Regions from separate parts of the Homo sapiens genome. Here regions 2, 3, 4 and 5 are each linked to region 1. The links are contacts of gene promoters, found by promoter capture Hi-C in blood cells and fetal thymus (Javierre and others, 2016). All regions are on one chromosome and are shown on one strand. Each heading gives the region's core, a stretch centred on a gene start or on the middle of the fragment in contact. The rest is flanking DNA. Distances are from core to core; before and after follow the strand shown.

Region 1 (3,537 bases), core at 426-2,925:
AGGAATTCACTGGCTGCTGATCCTAAAGGGCTTTGCAGTAATGAGAGAGAGAGGAGGAGGAAGGAAGGGAAAGATGGAAACGTAGCAAAGGGACCCCTGCCTCCCCTATGTCCAGGGGTCAAGTGTGCTCCAGGCATCCTTTCCAATCTCACCCCTGGGGGACAGTGTGACCATCTGCTTATCCTACTGGCTTTTTATTGCATACTTTCTTCATGCCTGCCACCGTGTTAAGCTCTTCTCTGACATTGCCTAACTTAATTCTCACATAGAGTAGGTACATTATTATCCCCATGTTATAAATGTTGTCCTGGGATTCAGAGAAGTTAAGTAATTTGCCCAAGGCTGCACAGCGGGGAGGTGGCAGACCTGCACTGGGCTCTGTCTAATGCTGCACTGCATGTGTCCACTAGCCATGCCCCACTGCCCATCTGGGTTTCAGGAGAAGACAGTGCTCACACACTGTGCTTTTCACTCACTGGGTATGATGCCCCCTGAGCTGGGCAAAGGGCAAAGGGCAGGGCCCTTGAGGAATTTCGGAGAAAACGAGATGAAAGGGAAGACAGGAGGGCCTGGGGGAACACCAGGAGGGTCCCGGGTCAAGGTGGCCCTGGGACATCCGAAGGGCTGCCACTGATGTCATGGAAAAGCCCCTCACCCCACACCTTAAGGTTGCCTGTCACATTCGGCTCCTGAATCTACAATAGCCATCAAGGAAATCCACTTCCCAAGGCCGACTGTCAGGGCATTCTAGCACCTGGGTCTTTGCCTGTGTGGATTAGGGAAATGGAAGGAGTTCCCATACCGGAGCTTGCCTAAGCTGTCTCCTAGGCAAAGACTTACTGTGAGGCCATGGGGCCCCAGAGCTGGAGGAGGCTGACAGGGAGCTTGTTTCGCCCCTCACACACCCTCCACCACCCTGCTGCAGCTTCCCTAAAAGTGGCTAATGTTCCTCTGATAAAATGTTCAACTCTGATGCCACATTGCTCCTTATATTAAAAAAAAAAGGCAAAACACAGCTGAAGTGATCTCTAGAAGCACATCCAGTCATCTCTAGAAGCCTGCAAAGAGGCCTCACTGACCTTTCCTTGCTTGTAGACATCGCCTCGTCTTTGTCCCAGGGTGGCTATGAGCATCTGGACCCCCTCACCCCACTCTCTCTGCCTCCTGAGCACAGTGAACTCAGACTGACTTTCTCCAAAGAGATCCAAGCATGAAGCAAATATTCATTAGTCTCCTAAATAGGGCCATACTCCACATCATTCCTTTTTTAAGGAGAAATCTTAAATAAGATTAATGGCATAATAGATCATTTCAGGTGAGTCAAATAAAAAAAATAAAAGCACAGCATTCTTGAGAAAGAGATTAGTTTTCATAGGCAGAAGCTTAAAGGCAAAACAAAATCCCAACCCACAAACCCTAAAGTAGCATTTTATTATAGCACCAACTTAGAGAAAGGCAAGCCCAGTGATGACTGGGTATCCTCGCAAGTCTACCCTGAACTTGGGACCCATCCCCAGGTGTGGGAGTAAAGAAATCATTGCATGATTTTCAATCTGGGATCGAGCCTTGATAAGAAACCAGCAGTCCTGACCACAGAAGTGGCCCCCCACGTACCTTGGCTCTCTCTGGAGTGTGCCTCTGGAGCCTCGAGCTGCACAGTCCCCCAGCACACCCTCTTGGCAGCCAGGTCCGCCCAGCTATATAGGAGCTGCCGGGGGAGGTGGCATTCCTGCAGGTCTCCAAATAAGGCAGCCCTTCCCTCCCCGGCAGACCAATCAGGGCTTCCTGGACCACTCCTTCATCCTGAGAAGGATGGACCTTCTCATCACACTTTACTAAGGAAACCACGTGAAAATCTTGATGAAGTTCAGCAAGGCTTCAGAGGTGCCTTTTAGAATTGGAATGAGATGTGTTAGAAGGAAAATGCTTTTCCCATCAATATCTATGACAGATGTGGCTTCAACAAGCCTCGCTGGACATGCATAGTGTCCTGTACCTAAAGGCCGGCCTTGGACAGCAAAGCAGTCTTTGCTGACAGCCTCTGTGGGGAGGTTCAGCTCAAAAAGAGGGCAAGCGTTCACCTGGACCACCACGCCCTGAGGATGGGACCAACAGGGTGTGTGTGTGGTGGTGGGGGGGGGGGGCGCCGGGGGGCGGTTACACTTTCATCGGGTAGTGGGAAAACAGAACTGGTAGGTATGGGGTGGAAGACACGTGAGAAGACTTCCTGGCATGTTGGGCGAGGAATGCTTGAAGGACTGAATTAGCCCAAAGGCCAATAAGTTAAAGATCTGCGGGAACCCCGGGAGCAGAGACACATTGACACGCAGCCAGTCCCCTGGACAGGTGGTGCGGGCTGAGGGCGAGTTCTGCAGAGTGCCTTCTCCTCTACATGGTGTCCGAGCGCTGCGCAGAAGGGGCTGGAGGTGCATTCCTGGGCTTTCCAAAGCAAGAGACTCATTGGTATTGGGTGACCATTTTGGGCCTTATACAGAAGGGACTTGCTCAGGTGTCCCTGTTACAGTTAGTACTGCAAGGCAAAGTCAAAAGTGAATATGGGAGCAAGTATGGGGCCAGATTTTCCTGTAAACAGAATGCGATTTTTATGCTGAATGTGACCCCGTCAGTGTTCACGGTGGATTTGCGTCAGAGCAATTTTGCAAACCAAATTAAACGGTTGTTATCGAGAAGGACAGCAGATAGCGCCAGAGAGCTGACAAAGACCGCAGCCGGTCGGTGGGAAACCCGGGCTTCTGGGCTCTGGGTGGATTTGGGGCCTCCGGTTGGGCCTTTCTTTCTCCTCTGACTTTAACATTTGTTTCACTTCCCCACTTTTTTTTTTTTAAGAACTTTTCTATTTCCTTTCTAGAACCACAGACTTTTTGTGCTTCTGAATACACACAAAACAGAAACACAGTAGTGTAATCTTAGTACAGACTGTTTGCAAAATGGAGATGAAAAAATCAAAATCTCCTAATAGTTCAGTACCCAGAGACAAATGTCAGGACAATTTTGTTTCACATATAGATACTTAGGGCCACAGTGTTTAGAGCTAGAAAGGACTCAGAATTCTGTGGTCCAGCTCCTTTGCATGGTGAGCTCACAGGCCCAGATAGGCTCAAGGTCACCCAGCCAGGCCGGCAGTGCAGCCTCGGCAGGCTCGTTGTCCCATTGTGAACTCTGTGCACTATCCCCCTGCCTGTTCCCACTAGACACAATCATCTCCAACCCCCTCCACCCCTCTTCTTCCTATTCCCTTTCTAAGCAGGACTTTACCCAGAGAATGGTGGGAGGTTGGTTTAGAGCTGACGTGGCAGCAGATTCCTCTTGTTAGTGAACAAAAGGCTGTTTACAAAGGCACAGAGGAATGGGGAAGACTGAAATTGCTACAGAAGCAGGGAGGAGCTCTGGAAGCTGCAAACAAGGCAAGAAAACAATAAGCAGATGTGGAGAATGTGGAGCCGACCCAATGCTGCCTCGCATCCTCCCTCCCTGCCTGTAAAGATCGACAAACAGACCAAGGAATTAGTGTGAGAA
Region 2 (3,537 bases), core at 561-3,060, 490 kb after region 1:
AAGCTTGGCCTTAGCCCGACCCCACAGGGATCCCTGGGGCAAGAAAGGCAGAACTGGACTGTGCTGAGGCAAGGGGGCCGGCCTTCTCTATCACCACATCAGTCTGTCATTGGCTGCAGGCTGTCCCCTTGGGAAGCAGGTGTCATGGACCCAGTTGAAGCAGCTCCCATTGACTGAGGGCAGTTGTCCAGAGAAGGGGCAACAGCTAGCCTCTGACTGCCAACACAGCACCTGGGGACCCCTGGGCAGGGCACCAACATCATCTGACTTCAAGCCTGAAAGGGACTTTGTGAGCAAAGACTTGAAGGAGTTGAAAGAGATGGCCAAGCAGCTCTTTAGGGTTTCTCCCAGGAGTTTGGGGTCATTCTGATACTCTCTCCAGCTAGCAAGCCCCACCCCAGCCCTTCTGAGCAGTCTGGATGGATGGACGTGGAGCTGAACCTGATGTGGCATGCCCTGCAAGGCGCCCTTGAGGACATACAGGCCAGCAAATGCCACACGGCCTGGTGTAAGCAGAATGAAGCATGCTCCGAGCACGCACACTCCAGAAGCCGCTATCACCCCTCAAACCCCAGTGGAGCAGGCAATCACAGGAACACCCTTGGAGAAGGTTCTAGGCTGAGTTGAGGCTGAGCTCCAGGGGAAATGCCCCCTATGGAGAGAGGAGGAGGACTAGCCTCCTCGCCAGACCAGCCTTGTGAAAACCCAGAGGCTGCCGGGCGCAGTGGCGAATGCCTGTAATCCCAGCATTTTAGGAAGCCGAGGCGGGTGGATCACCTGAGGTCAGGAGTTTAAGACCAACCTGGCCAACATGGCGAAGCCCCGTCTCTACTAAAAATACAGAAAATTAGCCAGGCGTGGTTGTGGGCGCCTGTATTCCCAGCTACTTGGGAGGCTGAGGCAGGAGAATTGCTTGAACCTGGGAGGCAGAGGTTGCAGTGAGCCAGGATCACGCCATTGCACTCCAGCCTGGGCAAGAGAGCGATACTCTGTCTCAAAAAAAAGAAAAAAGAAAAAGAAAACCCAGAGGTGGGATGGGCTCACTGCTGGTGGGGCAGCTGCCAGGAAGAACAAAGGGAGTGGCTGTGCCTCCTGAACCCAGCGCCCCTAGAAGCCCAAGGGGAGTTCTGTTTCTCTGTTTAAGTGATGTCAGGAGAGGACCAGGAGCTTTGGGACTAGACCAACTCAGATGCATGTCCTGACCCTAAGGGCTACTTGCTCTCTGGGTAACTAGAATCATTCTGCAAAGCGGGATGCCATGAGGATTCATCGAGAACTACATAAAAGGCCCAGCATGGTGCCTAGAAGGTACTGAACACTCGGAAAGCGTCAGCTCCCTTTTCCTTCCTCTGCACATTAGAGGCCACCTATTCAAGTGCCATTTACTTGTTCATTCAAGATATTTCAGAGTCCCTGCTTCGTTCGAGTCAGGCACTTGTGCTAGAGGCTGGGATAAAAAGAAAAACATATTGGACAGTGCAAAAACATGCCTTTTAGAAAATTTCTCAGGCCAGACATGGTATCTTACTCCTGGAATCCCAGCACTTTGGGAGGCTGAGGCAGGAGGATCATTTGAGGCCAGGGGTTCAAGACCAGCCTAGGAAACAGAGCAAGACCCTGTCTTTACAAAAATAATAATAATAATAATAATAATAATAACAATTAGCCAGGTGTAGTGGCACATGCCTGTAGTCCCAACTAATTGGGAGGCTGAGGCAAGAGGCTCACTTGAGCCCAGGAGTTCGGTGAGCCATGATTGCACCACTGCACTCCAACCTGGGTGACAGCAAGACCCAGTCTCTAAAAACAGAAAGAGAGAAAGAAAGAAAGAAAAGAAAAGAAAAGAGAGAGAGAGAGAGAGAAAGAAAGAAAGAAAGAAAGAAAGAAAAAGAAAGAAAGAGAAAGAGAAAAGAAAGCAAAGAAGGAAAGAAAGAGTCCCATACCTGCCTTCAAGAAACCAAGAGTCACATAGAGTAGATGGAGCAATAGCAAATTGTATGAACCTGTAGTTGCACGGGAAAGGACAGCTGAGCCAGGCTGGGTGGGGAGACACCTGACCTGGGGCTGCAGGGACTGGGGGAGGAGGCTCCTGGGAGCAGCAAGTCCTGGCAGAAAGGCAGAAGAAGCCCAGCTATGTGGGAGGATCTGCTTGAGGCTTAACGTGGCTGAATTTGGAGGAAGGCAGGACAAAGACAGCACTGGCCCTAGAAACGTTGTGTTTCCTTGTGAGCAGCACCATGTTTCGATTGATTCCTCTGAGCCACAGGAAGCCACTGACAGTTTTCAGAAGGGAAAGGAGAGAAACCAAGTTTTAAGGAAAAGTCTCCCAGCAGCTGTGTGCAGAGTGGAGAGGATATGGGTTGAGGCCAGGGGCTGTGAGGCCAGGGGCTGTCAGGGGCTGCTGCCGCCACCTAAGCAAAATGAAATGACAGAGCAAGCCAAGGCTTAACAAACACAGTGAAGTGCAGGGGACCTGCTAAAAAGGACATCTACCGCACAGGACGTGGTGACCAGTTGGATGTGTAGGATACAGAGGAGGGATTCATTCAGCAAACTCAGCAAGTGTTATGCACCTGCTGTGTGCTTGATATGCCTGTGAGGTCTTCTTGGCAATGGGAATGCAGCACCAAGCAAAACAGACCCTGGCCCCACCCCAGGGATGTTCATTGCAGGGAGATAGATGATAGACAAATGCATCATGACTCAAATAGGACAGAAGGTGACAAGTACCATGAGGCATAACAGAGCAAGCTGAGCCAGACAGGGAGCACAGGGTTAGGGGATATTGCAATTGTGAATACGAAGTCAGTGTGATCTCATCACAAAGGTGAGGGTGTGAGCCACATGGATATTGGAGGAAGAAAATTCTGGGGAAAAAGTGCAAAGGGCCAAGGTGGGTGTGCATCTGGCATGTCCAAAAAGCAACAGGGAAGGCAATGTGGCTGGAACAGAGTAGGCGAGGGAAGGAGAGGAGAGGAGAGATTTGGGGGGACATGTTGAGCTGTGTAGGTCATAGGCTCTTGCTAGGAGGAGGCAGAGGAGCTGTTGGAGGGTTCTGAGCAGAGGAGTGACGTGACCAGTCTTTTCAGTCTTTCTAGCTGCCAGGGTGAGAAAAGATTCAGGGGGCAGGGGCACAAGCAGTGAGGGGGCTGCTGGATTCATCAAGGCAAGTGATGATGGTGTCTCAGACAGGGTGGGAGGGCGCATTGAGGGTGGGTGGTTGAGTTCCAACCTCGTCTCCTTCCTCTCTGCCCTCAATCACTGCATTCTGTCCACACCAACCTCGTCATCGTTCTACAAACATACCGGAGCCACCTCAGGGCCTTTGCACTTGCCGTTTCCTCTGCTGGAATGTTCCTCCCCAGATCTCCACACACCTCATTCACTCACTTCATTCAGCTCTTTACTCAAATGTCACATTCTCATCAGGACTTTCCTGGCCACCTTATCCAGAATTTATACCACCACCCCTAGCCACATATCACAAGCACACTCGCCCCCATCTTCCTTCCTGCTTCATTTTTTTCTCCTTAGTAT
Region 3 (3,537 bases), core at 447-2,946, 450 kb after region 1:
AATATAAATATACAAAGTCCTGTTACCTTTACATATGAACAACTTAGTGGAGCCAAGAATTTTTGGGTCACAATCCTGGAACTCTGCTGCTGAATAATTCCCAAAGTAGCAGTTTCTGAGACACTTTTATATGGACATTAATAAAAGTATAAAATTTTTTCTTGGAAGGGCATGCACCACTGTTCATGCCTATAATCTCAGCACTTTGGGACCCTGAGGTGGGAGGATCTCTTGAGCCCAGGTTTGAGACCAGCCTGGGTAACATAGTGAGACCCCATCTCTGCATAAAATAAAATTAAAATTAAAAAACTTTATTTGAAAATATGGATAAACAAAGATAAATCATTTTTTACTGAGTTAACAAGCTCTGTAAATTTCCAAAGGAAGCCTATAGCATTTCCCAAGCATGTTTGATTGATTAAGATATCTTCCTTTAGGCAGGGCTCGGTGACTCACACCTGTAATCCCAGCACTTTGGGAGGCCGAGGCAGGCAGATCACAAGGTCAGGGGATCGAGACCATCCTGGATAACACAGTGAAACCCCGTCTCTACTGAAAATACAAAAAATTAGCTGGGCGTGGTTGCAGGCACCTGTAGTCCCAGCTACTCGGGAGGCTGAGGCAGGAGAATGGCGTGAACCCAGGCGGCGGAGCTTGCAGTGAGCCGAGGTTGCGAGACTGCACTCCAGCCTGGGTGACAGAGTGAGACTCTGTCTCAAAAAAAAAAAAAAAAAGATATCTTCCTTTCAGAGCATACCTCTCGGTCTCCCAAAACAATGATGGGCATAAAATCTACTTAAGAATTGATGCTGTAGTATTCACCCAATTTTCTTGATAAAGGAGAGATCCAAGTTCAGACTGAATTTCTTTTCCCATTTACCCAAAACATAAAATCTTCACCAGGATGCATTGAAATATCAGACTCTGTTAATATTTTTTATATTTTTCAATATGTTTTGTTGAAACACAGTTCAGCTCTTTTGATCATCCTTTCTCATCTCAGAAAAATATTAGTTTATGCCTTCGATTGTTACTTCCTTTCCATTTTTAAGGTGGCTTCCTGGTTTGTTCTTCAGGAATTGTCATCCTTCCTTTTTATTAATTCCATCTCTTTGGCCTGTTGCATGGCATCCTAGAAGCTTTTCCTGCGTTCACTCCCTCCATCGCTGATTTTATTTTCCACAATGTCAGGTTCCTAACCACTTTCAACACATATTGAAACACATAGGCAAACAGTGAAAAGTATGTCTGTCTTCCAAATTTGCCCCTGTAGGTAAGAATTGTTACCAGTCTCTTAGAATCTTTCTAGAGATAATATATACACAAATGTGTGCACACACAGGCACACATCTACATATTTATCTCTTTATATGTGTTTAGTGGCAAATCCCTCTGTTGTTGGGGATGGCAATATGTCTGAAGATATATGTACATTTTCCAAACTCCTCCAGCCTCATGGTGTCAGTTATGACACTTATGGATCCAAATAACAGAAAGTCCAACTCAAAATAGTGTATAAGGACATGTATTCTTTTCCATGACAAAAATGGCAGCTCCAGGGCTGCCATTGATTAAGCACTTCAACACAATCATCAAGAACCCAGAATCCTTCCATCTTTTTATTCTGCCAGCCCCGGCATGTTAACCTGTCAATCTGGGTTGCCTCATGGTCCCAAGATGGCTGCAGGTGTTCCAAGCATTACATCAGAAACAATCATTTCTAGAAGTAGAAAACTTACTATTTTTTCCTTGTGACTTTTTTGAAGAATGATAAAAAATTCCCAGAAGCCCCCAACAGACATGGGGGTGGTTTCCCCCATGCTGTTCTCATGATAGTGAGTGAGTTCTCATGAGATCTGATGATCTCTTCCCCACTTCACTCGGCACTTCTTGGCACCATGTGAAGACGGATGTGTTTGCTTCCCCTTCTGCCATGATTGTAAGTTTCCTGAGGCCTCCTCAGCCATGCTGAACTGTGAGTCAATTAAACCTCTTTCCTTTATAAATTACCCAGTCTCAGGTATGTCTTTATTAGCAGCATGAGAACTGACTAATACAAGAGGTGACATCAGCAAAAATGGGAGCATAAGGACCTCTGAAAATTCTCTCCTCCATAAAAGCAATGAGAAAACTGGCCGAAAAAAATGGTCAGAATCAACTTTTTTAGAACTCTGAAATTTAATCAGAGTTCATTATTAACAGAGCACTTATTCAAGAAAAATGACTGAATCTCATTAAAAACAGCAAGCTTTGTGGCATTTTAACTTGCCCCTTCCTATTTTCCACTCCCTCGCTCCTTAATTGCCTTAAAAAAGAACAGCCTAAAAGGAAAAAAAAAAAAAAAAAAAAAAAGAACATCCTAGGCCAGGCACGGTGGCTCATAACTGTAATCCCAGAACTTTGGGATGCCAAGGCGGGTGGATCACTTGAGGTCAGGAGTTCAAGACCAGCCTGGCAAACATGGTGAAACCCCATCTCTACTAAAAATACAAAAATTAGCTGGGCATGGTGGCACATGCCCAGCTACTCAGGAGGCTGAGGCAGAAAAATCACTTGAACATGGGAAGCAGAAGTTGCAGTGAGCCGAGATCATGCCACTGCATTCCAGCCTGTGTGACAGAGCAAGACTCCACCTCAAAAGAAAAAGAACAGCCTATACTTACAGTGCAAAGTAGCATCCTGGCAGCCACCGGACAGAGCAAAACAGGGCTGGAACACTTTCAAAGTCTCAATCCTAAAGAATTGTCATTATTTGACATGTCTGGTAATTCCCTGGAAGATCCCACTTGCAAGACTCTCTTTATTTTAATTTTTTTTAACCTGACTCAGTACTTTCTCAGGGTGAAAAGGCTTTTTCCCCTTGGGGACATTGAAAACAATTAAAGACAAATGTTTAACTTCACACTACGTAAGGTGGTGGATAACAGTTGGAGCAAACATTAGACTAACCAAAAAGGAGGAGCTGGGGAATGGGATGTCCATGGGGGCTTTGAAAATCTCTGACATATTTCCAGGAACCTAAAAGGTCACATGCATGCTCAGGGCTGTGCACATGTTCAGGAAAGGCCTGAGGAGGCCCTCAGCTCTCACCTCTGGCTGAATTTGAGGACCTGTACAAGCAAGTGAAGGCTGAGAAAGGCATGTCACTTGCCTGGCTGAGTGTTGAAAGTGTTTCCCAACACTCACATGGAGGCCCCTTGGCAAAGACTGGGAGACTTACTGTTTTCAGACGCATAAGGAATCTCTGTCCAGTCATCATCTGACCACTAAACTCACCAAGCAGAGACTTCAGTGACCACACATGACACAGAATACAGACTACAATATTAGTCCAGAAAAGTCATTAAACAGACAGCAACAAGATCTACACCATAAGCAACAACAACAAACAAGTGATTTTTAAAAACACAGCTAGTAAACTAGTAGTATAAGGTAATTTCCTTAAGCTAATCAGTAACCTGATTTCTGAAGTTGCCACACTATATTATTTTATACATATAGATTTAAACAAAAAAGGAAACATGCAAATAAATAAGA
Region 4 (3,537 bases), core at 370-2,869, 410 kb before region 1:
AATGTTCTCCAAAATATGTTTTTGTTTTTGTTTTTTGAGACAGGGTCTCAAACTCCTGGGCTCAAGCGATCCTCCTGCCTCAGCCTCCCTAGAAGCTAGGATTACAGGCGAGCAGCACTGTGCCTGGCCAAAATATATGTTCTAAAAATCGGTAGGAACAGTTCTCTTTGGATAGTCCACTGTCAACTGCAATAACACGAAAGTTGTTTAAAAAAAACCCATGATCTCATTATCTTTCACCAAAAACATTCCTCCTAGTGTAACTGCTCTGTTGACATCCTGTCACCAAATCTTGTGCTTTCTTCCTTCTGGGTGTCTCCCTAATGTCCGTTGCGTCCAGTCATCAAAAAGTTACAGGCTGCATTAGGGGAAGCCGTGAGCCTGGTGTAAGGCAACAGGGATTGGTGGGAACCGATGATCCTCAGCTCCAGCCAACCATTGAGCAGGTGACAAAGTGATGGTGGACCCTCCAATTATCTAAGACAGGCAAGAAATTTAGATTGTTAGGAGAAACTTTCTGATTTTTAAGGCAATATGTGGGCCAAAGAAAACATCTACAGGTCACTCATGGGCAATCCCGAGTGAACCAGGCTCCCTCAGTCTGGTCCAGGCTCCCTCAGTCCCTTCTACACATCACTGTCTGATCAGTTTCCCAAACACAGGGCTCCTGATCACTGCTATCTCGGAAAGCACAACTACTGCTACAAAGTCCTATACTGCCATTCAACCTCCACAGTAATAAAACCAATCCCTACCTTCCTTAACTCCCCTACACAGATCTTTCACTTCACCCAAAGGAGTCCACTCCCCCACCCGTCACCCCCGCCACTGTCCCCGCCAAGATGGCCTCCTTCCTACTCTCCTCCCCTACCCACCAGAGCCCACACGGTGCAGGAAACAACCCATCAACCGGGAGGACGCCCTCCAACACCTGCTGATGACGGACTGGCTCACTGGGTAACACCCCTTTGCTCAAAGCCGATGATTTCATGCCCAAGAAGGGATTTACATCTCCCAGGAGGCAAATGCTATGGCCTTGTCCTGATTCCCCCACCCCCCAAAATAATAACATTGTAAAAGGGAACGGAGAGCCTAAGTTGCGCTCAGAGGAGCCGCCTCCCTAAGAAGGCTCTGCATATCTTCACCTCCAGGAAGGCCTCACGGAGTTGGGGGAGAGGGGAGTCCCCGCAGCCAGCCCAGCGAGGCAGGAGGCCGTGCGCCACTCCCGAGAAGCTCCTTCCTGCGCCCCGGGGGAGCCACTTCAGTCAGACCCTGAGCCGGGACCCCGACCCGCCGACCCCTGACGCGCGCGCCGCGAAGGCCGGGCACCCGAGGGCCCTTCGCGCTACCCGGGCCCGGGGCCGCCGTCGGCTGCGACAAAGGGTCAGAGAACAAGACGACCCCTCTGCGCGCGTCCCCCGCAGGCCTCCCGGATGCGCCGCTGTCCCGGCCGCGCCCACCCCGACGCTGCCGCTACCTTGTCCTCGGGTGGCGCAACCGGCTCATGGGCCACCCTCTGCCTCAGCTCTGTCATCCTGGGAAAATCGGCCCGACGTCGCCGCGAGCTAGCAGCGAAGCCGCCGGAGCAGGCAGCTCGGCGCGGGCACGCGCGGACTCCCACGGCCGGCCCCGCCCCGCCCGGGAGGCGCGCGGCTCTGAGCGGCTCACAGTTCCCTTAGCAGCCCAGCAGCCAGCCCTGGAGCTCGGCCCCACCCAGTGCCGTCACCGCCCTTTCACCCGGGCCGAGCGGGGTCAGCCTTCCCTAGCCCCGACCCGAGAGCTCCCTCTCCCGGGAGCAGGGCTCGGAGCGAGTGCGCACGCGCAGCGCCACCATCACGGTCCGGAATATCCACCAATGGCGCAAATACGCCAGGGAGGCAGGGCGACGGGGGCGGGGCGGGGCGGAGCAGAGTCGAGAGGCGCGCATTGGACGGCAGCGTCAGGGGCGGGAAAAGGCGTGCGTTTCAGTGTGCGATTAGCCAATGGGAGCTCCCGCTTAACCGCGGATGGCCGGAGCTGGCGCCCTGGTTCTGGAGGTAACCGGTTACTGAGGGCGAGAAGCGCCACCCGGAGGCTCTAGCCTGACAAATGCTTGCTGACCTGGGCCAGAGCTCTTCCCTTACGCAAGTAAGTAGACGTTATTTAGGTCGAATGGAAAGGCCAGGTGAGCCGACCTGGTTAAGAGCATTTTATCACTTATCACATGATGAGAAATGAAACCCACGCTTCAGTCTGCTTTGCTTTGCCAAGCGGTCGCTAGTACTTGTTAAGCACTAATTGTATACTAGGCACTGAGCTGAGTAATCGCTTTAGTTGGCTTATCTCGTTTAATCCACACATGGCTTGGAAGTGGGTATGATTTGAATTTTACAGTTAAGATCTTCCTCAGTGGTTTGTTTGTTTGTTCGTTTGTTTGTTTGTTTTGTGACGGAGTCTCGCTCTGTCGCCCAGGCTGGAGTGCAGTGGCATGATCTCGACTCACTGCAACCTCTGCCTCCCGGGCGCAAACAATTCCAAGGTGCGCGCCACCACGCCCGGCTAACTTTTGTATTTTTAGTAGAGACGGGGTTTCACCATATTGGTCAGGCTGGTCTCGAACTCCTGACCTCAGGTGATCCGTCCGCCTCCGCCTTCCAAAGTGCTGGGATTACAGGCGTGAGCCACCGAGCCTGGCCCTTCCTCAGTTTTTCAAATTTGTCTTCTGGACTATGGAAAGACCTTTTTTGGGACAGAAGTGCTGTCTACTTTGTTTACTGTGCATCCTCTATGTCTTTGACACATCCATTGTAAGTACTTGTTGGATGGATTTAAAACTTTTAAAAGGACCTTAGCCAAGGTCTCCCAGCTAGAAAGTGCCTAGTAAGAATTAGAACACAAACAGGTTTGTTACCAGCCCACACTCTAACCACCATACTATACTGCCTGCCTGCATTTATTAATACTTGTGTTGCTCCAGCATTGCCTTTGGTGTTTCCTGTTCTTTCTATTCACTGCCCTGTAAGTGATGTAAAACACATATAACACTGCGTCCCCAACTTAAGCATACTGTAATCTCACAATGAGACACTTGCACACAAAAGAATTGCAATTTCGTTTTTTAAAAAAATATAATTTTACATTTTTCTTCTTTTCAATTTTTAAATTTTAATTAATTTATTTCTCCTTTTTTTAGAGACAGGGTCTCACTATGTTGCCCAGACTGGTCTTGAACTCCTGGGTTCAAGAGATCCTCCCGCCTAGGTCTCCCAAAGTGCTGGGATTACAGGCATGAGCTACCATGCCTGGCTAAAATTTCCTATTGGTAATTTTGACCTGAGCTGTGAGTTTTGGGGCAGGTAGTGAGAATTCTGAAAACAGCATTATATATTCCTGATTTCTATATGAGTATATGCCCGAGTAGCTTGGACTACAGGTGTGCAGCACCACACCCAGCTAACTTTTAAATTTTTGTGTAGCGATGAAGTCTCACTTTATTGCTTAGGCTGGTCTTAAACTCCTGGGCTCGAGCAATCCTCCCACATAGGCCTCCTAAAGTTC
Region 5 (3,537 bases), core at 706-3,205, 380 kb before region 1:
GTCAGGCTGGTCTTGAACTCCTGACCTCAGGTGATCATCCTGCCTCGGCCTCGCAAAGTGCTGGGATTATAGGCGTGAGCCACCTTGCCCAGCCTCTTGTTTTGTTTTGTTTTGTTTTTAAGATGTAGTCTTGCTCTGTTGCCCAGGCTGGACTGCAGTGGTGCAATCCTGGCTCACTGCAACCTCCCCCTCCTGGTTCAAGTGATTCTTGTACCTCAGCCTCCCTAGTAGCTGGGGGATTACAGGCATGCACCACCATGCCTGGCCAATTTTCGTATTTTTAGTATAGATGGGGTTTCGCCATGTTGGCCAGGCTGGTCTCGAACTCTTAACCTCCAGTGATTCACCCACTTCGGCCTCCCAAAGCGCTGGAATTACAGGCGTGAGTCACCGCGCCCAGCCTTTTTTTTTTTTTTTTGAGACAGGGTCTTGCTCTTTTGCCCAGGCTTGGGTACAGTGGCACAATCAAGACTCACTGTAACCTTGACCTTCTGGGCTCAAGTAGTCTTTTCACCTCAGCCTCCTGAATAGCTGGGACCACAAGCATGTGCCACCACACCCAGCTAATTTTAAAATTTTTTGTAGAGACAGGATCTCTTAAATCCCCATAAGTTAGTACAGCCATCTATGTGCCAGGCAGTTAATAAATATATATCTAACAAATGAATGACTGTAAAGTCATTTCTGTTTTTGTTTTAAAGAAAAGTTTCTTATGATACAATGAATGATTTATGGAATGAGATTCGAACTAGAGTGAATGACATTCCTCTGAGATTCCTTTGAGTAACTGTGAGAGCAATAACTAGAGCTTCATCTCTTGCCAGTCCCTTTTATTTCTCAGAGCTGCACTGGGTGGTAGGACATACTTAAGACACATAAAGTATCTAGTTTGGTTCTTAATTACCCTCCTGTTTTTGCTGTTGTTGTATTTGAAACAGGCTCTGGCTCTGTCACCCAGGCTGGAGTGCAGTGGTGCAATCTCAGCTCGCTGCCTCTTCACCTCCTGGGCTCAAGCCATCCTCCCAGCTTAGCGTCCCAAGTAGCCGGGACTGCAGGCACATGCCACCACGCCCGGCTAATTTTTGTATTTTTTGTAGAGACGAGGTTTCACCATGTTGCTCAGGCTGGTCTCAAACTCCTGAACTCAAGTGATCCGCCTGCCTCAGCCTCCCACATTGCTGGGATTACAGGTGCGAGCTCTCCTCCCTGTTTTAAAGTGTTTGAGACTGGGCTTGATGGCTTATACCTGTAATCCCAGCACTTTGGGAGGCAGAGGTGGAAGGACTCCCTTGAGCCCAGGAGTTGGAGACCACCCTGGGCAACATAGTGAGACCTCGTCTCTACAGAAAAATTTAAAAATTAGCTGGGCATGGTGACGTATACTTGTAGTCCCAGCTACTTGAGAGGATGAGGCAAGAGAATTGCTTGAGCCCAGGAGTTCGAGGCTGCAATGAGCTGTAATTGCACCACTGCACTCCAGCCTGGGTGATAGAGCAAGACTCCGTCTCTAAAATCATAAAAATTAGGCCGGGCGCGGTGGCTCACGCCTGTAATGCCAGCACTTTGGGAGGCCGAGGCGGGCGGATCACCTGAGGTCAGGAGTTCAAGCCCAGCCAGGTCAACAAGGTGAAACCCTGTCTCTACTAAAAATACCAAAAAAATTAGCTGGGTGTAGTGGCGGGCACCTGTAACCCCAGCTGCTCAGGAGGCTGAGACAGGAGAATCACTTGAATCCAGGAGGCAGAGGTTGCAGTGAGCCAAGATCACGCCATTGCTCTCTAGCCTGGGCAACAAGAACGAAACTCCATCTCAAAACAAACAAACAAAAACATAAAAATTACAAATAATTAATTAAATGTTTGAACCCAGGTATTTGCATTAATGTTCTTCGTTGTCTTTTTCATCTCTATTTCTCTTCCAGTTTAAGAAAACCCCTCCTAAGATCCCTTATAAGGCCATCGCACTTGCCACTGTGCTGTTTTTGATTGGCGCCTTTCTCATTATTATAGGCTCCCTCCTGCTGTCAGGCTACATCAGCAAAGGGGTAAGCTGACGGGCATGTGGGAATAAGTTGTGAGATTTTTAAAATGTTAGCCAAGGCTCTAGTGTGCGTGTGTGTGTGTGTGTGTGTGTGTGTGTGTGTGTGTGTGTGTTTGTCCGTCCCAGTGGTCTGTTTTTTTTGAGACAGGGTCTTGCTCTGTCATCCAAGCTAGAGTGCAGTGGCACAACCTTTACCTCCCTGGGCTCAAGCGATCCTCTCACCTCAGCCTCCCGAGTAGCTGGGACTACACGTGTGTGCCACCACACCCAGCTAATTTTATTTTTTATTTACTTATTTTTGTTTGTTTTATTTTGTGTAGAGACAGGGTTTCACTATGTTGCCCAGGCTGATCTCTAACTCCTGAGGTCAAGCAGTCTGCCTGCCTCAGCCTTCCAAAGTGCTGGGATTGCAGGTGTGAACCATTGCCCCTGGCCAATTTTTTTTCCAATTTTTATGGGTACATAGTAGGTGTATATACTTAGGGGATACATGAGGTATTTTGATACAGCCATGCATTCATAATAATCACATCAGGCTAAATGGGGTATCCATCCCCTCAAGCATTCATCATTTGTATTACATTCCAATTATACTTTTATTTATTTATTTATTTTGAGACAGAGTCAGGCTGGAGTGCAGTGGCATAATATCGGCTAACTGCAACCTCCGCCTCCCAGGTTCATGCTATTCTTGTGCCTCAGCCTCCCGAGTAGCTGGAATTACAGACGTGCGCCACCGCACCCGGCTAATGTTGGTATTTTTAGTAGAGATGGGGTTTCGCCATGTTGCCCAGGCTGGCCTCCCAAAGTGTTGGGATTACAGGCATGAACCACTGTGCCTGGCCTATTTTTAGTTATATATATACATATACACATACATACATACATACATATATATATATTTTGGAGACAGAGTCTTGTTCTGTCACCCAGGCTGGAGTGCAGTGGCAGGATCTCAGCTCACTGCAAACTCCGGCTCGTGGGTTCAAGTGATTCTCCTGCCTCAGCCTCCTGAGTTAGCTGGGACTATGGTGGCAAGCCAGCACACTTGGCTTATTTTTGTATTTTTAGTAGAGATGGGTTTTTGCCATGTTGGCCAGGCTGGTCATGAACTCCTGACCTCAAGCGGCCTGCCCGCGTGGGCCTCCTAAAGTGCTGGGATTACAGGCGTGAGCTACCACGTCCAGCCTTAGTTATTATATTTTTAAATGTACAATAAATTATTCTCTAGTCACTTTGTGCTATCAAATACTAGAGCTTATTCATTCTATGTAACTATATTTTGTACCCGTTAACCTTCCCCATTCCCCCCTACCTTTCCCAGCCTTTGGTAACCATCATTCTACAATATCCATGAGTTCAATTGTTTTAATTTTTAGTTCCCGCAAATGAGTGAGAACATGGAAAGTGTGTCTTTCTGTGCCTGGCTTAATTTCACTTAACATAACGTTCTCCAGTTTCATCCATGTTGTTGCAAGTGACAGGATCTCATTCTTT

The links. Contacts are between HindIII fragments. The CHiCAGO score rates a contact against its expected background, and 5 or more counts as called.
Region 2: a fragment that was not itself captured here is called in contact with the fragment with the promoter of PRND in region 1 in 6 of 17 cell types (M1 macrophages, endothelial precursors, megakaryocytes and 3 more); the score reaches 11.6 in M1 macrophages.
Region 3: a fragment that was not itself captured here is called in contact with the fragment with the promoter of PRND in region 1 in 1 of 17 cell types (M1 macrophages); the score reaches 5.2 in M1 macrophages.
Region 4: the fragment with the promoter of CDS2 here is called in contact with the fragment with the promoter of PRND in region 1 in 1 of 17 cell types (total B cells); the score reaches 5.1 in total B cells.
Region 5: a fragment that was not itself captured here is called in contact with the fragment with the promoter of PRND in region 1 in 1 of 17 cell types (total B cells); the score reaches 6.9 in total B cells.

The regions. Positions count from the first base shown.
Region 1 is chr20:4,720,047-4,723,583 of GRCh38, reverse strand. PRND (prion like protein doppel) reads right to left here and starts at 1,675. Exons shown (of 2, transcript NM_012409.4): 1 at 1,615-1,675. RefSeq lists an enhancer at 2,753-2,972. The HindIII fragment of the contact is 8,148 bases long and covers 1,385-3,537 here.
Region 2 is chr20:4,229,390-4,232,926 of GRCh38, reverse strand. All of the region lies in intron 1 of ADRA1D (adrenoceptor alpha 1D), which reads left to right. Among named protein-coding and RNA genes, the nearest start is that of ADRA1D, 18 kb to the left of the region's middle. RefSeq lists an enhancer at 117-617. The HindIII fragment of the contact is 3,609 bases long and covers 6-3,537 here.
Region 3 is chr20:4,272,136-4,275,672 of GRCh38, reverse strand. No RefSeq gene overlaps it. Among named protein-coding and RNA genes, the nearest start is that of ADRA1D, 25 kb to the right of the region's middle. The HindIII fragment of the contact is 1,109 bases long and covers 1,142-2,250 here.
Region 4 is chr20:5,125,090-5,128,626 of GRCh38, reverse strand. It overlaps CDS2 (CDP-diacylglycerol synthase 2), which reads right to left and starts at 1,619. Exons shown (of 13, transcript NM_003818.4): 1 at 1,478-1,619. The coding sequence starts at 1,534. It also overlaps a transcript of PCNA not described here. RefSeq lists enhancers at 781-870, 1,447-1,948 and a silencer at 1,211-2,130. The HindIII fragment of the contact is 13,373 bases long and covers 1-3,537 here.
Region 5 is chr20:5,104,695-5,108,231 of GRCh38, reverse strand. TMEM230 (transmembrane protein 230) reads left to right here. Exons shown (of 4, transcript NM_001009925.2): 3 at 1,922-2,044. Among named protein-coding and RNA genes, the nearest start is that of TMEM230, 6.6 kb to the left of the region's middle. The HindIII fragment of the contact is 4,635 bases long and covers 1-3,537 here.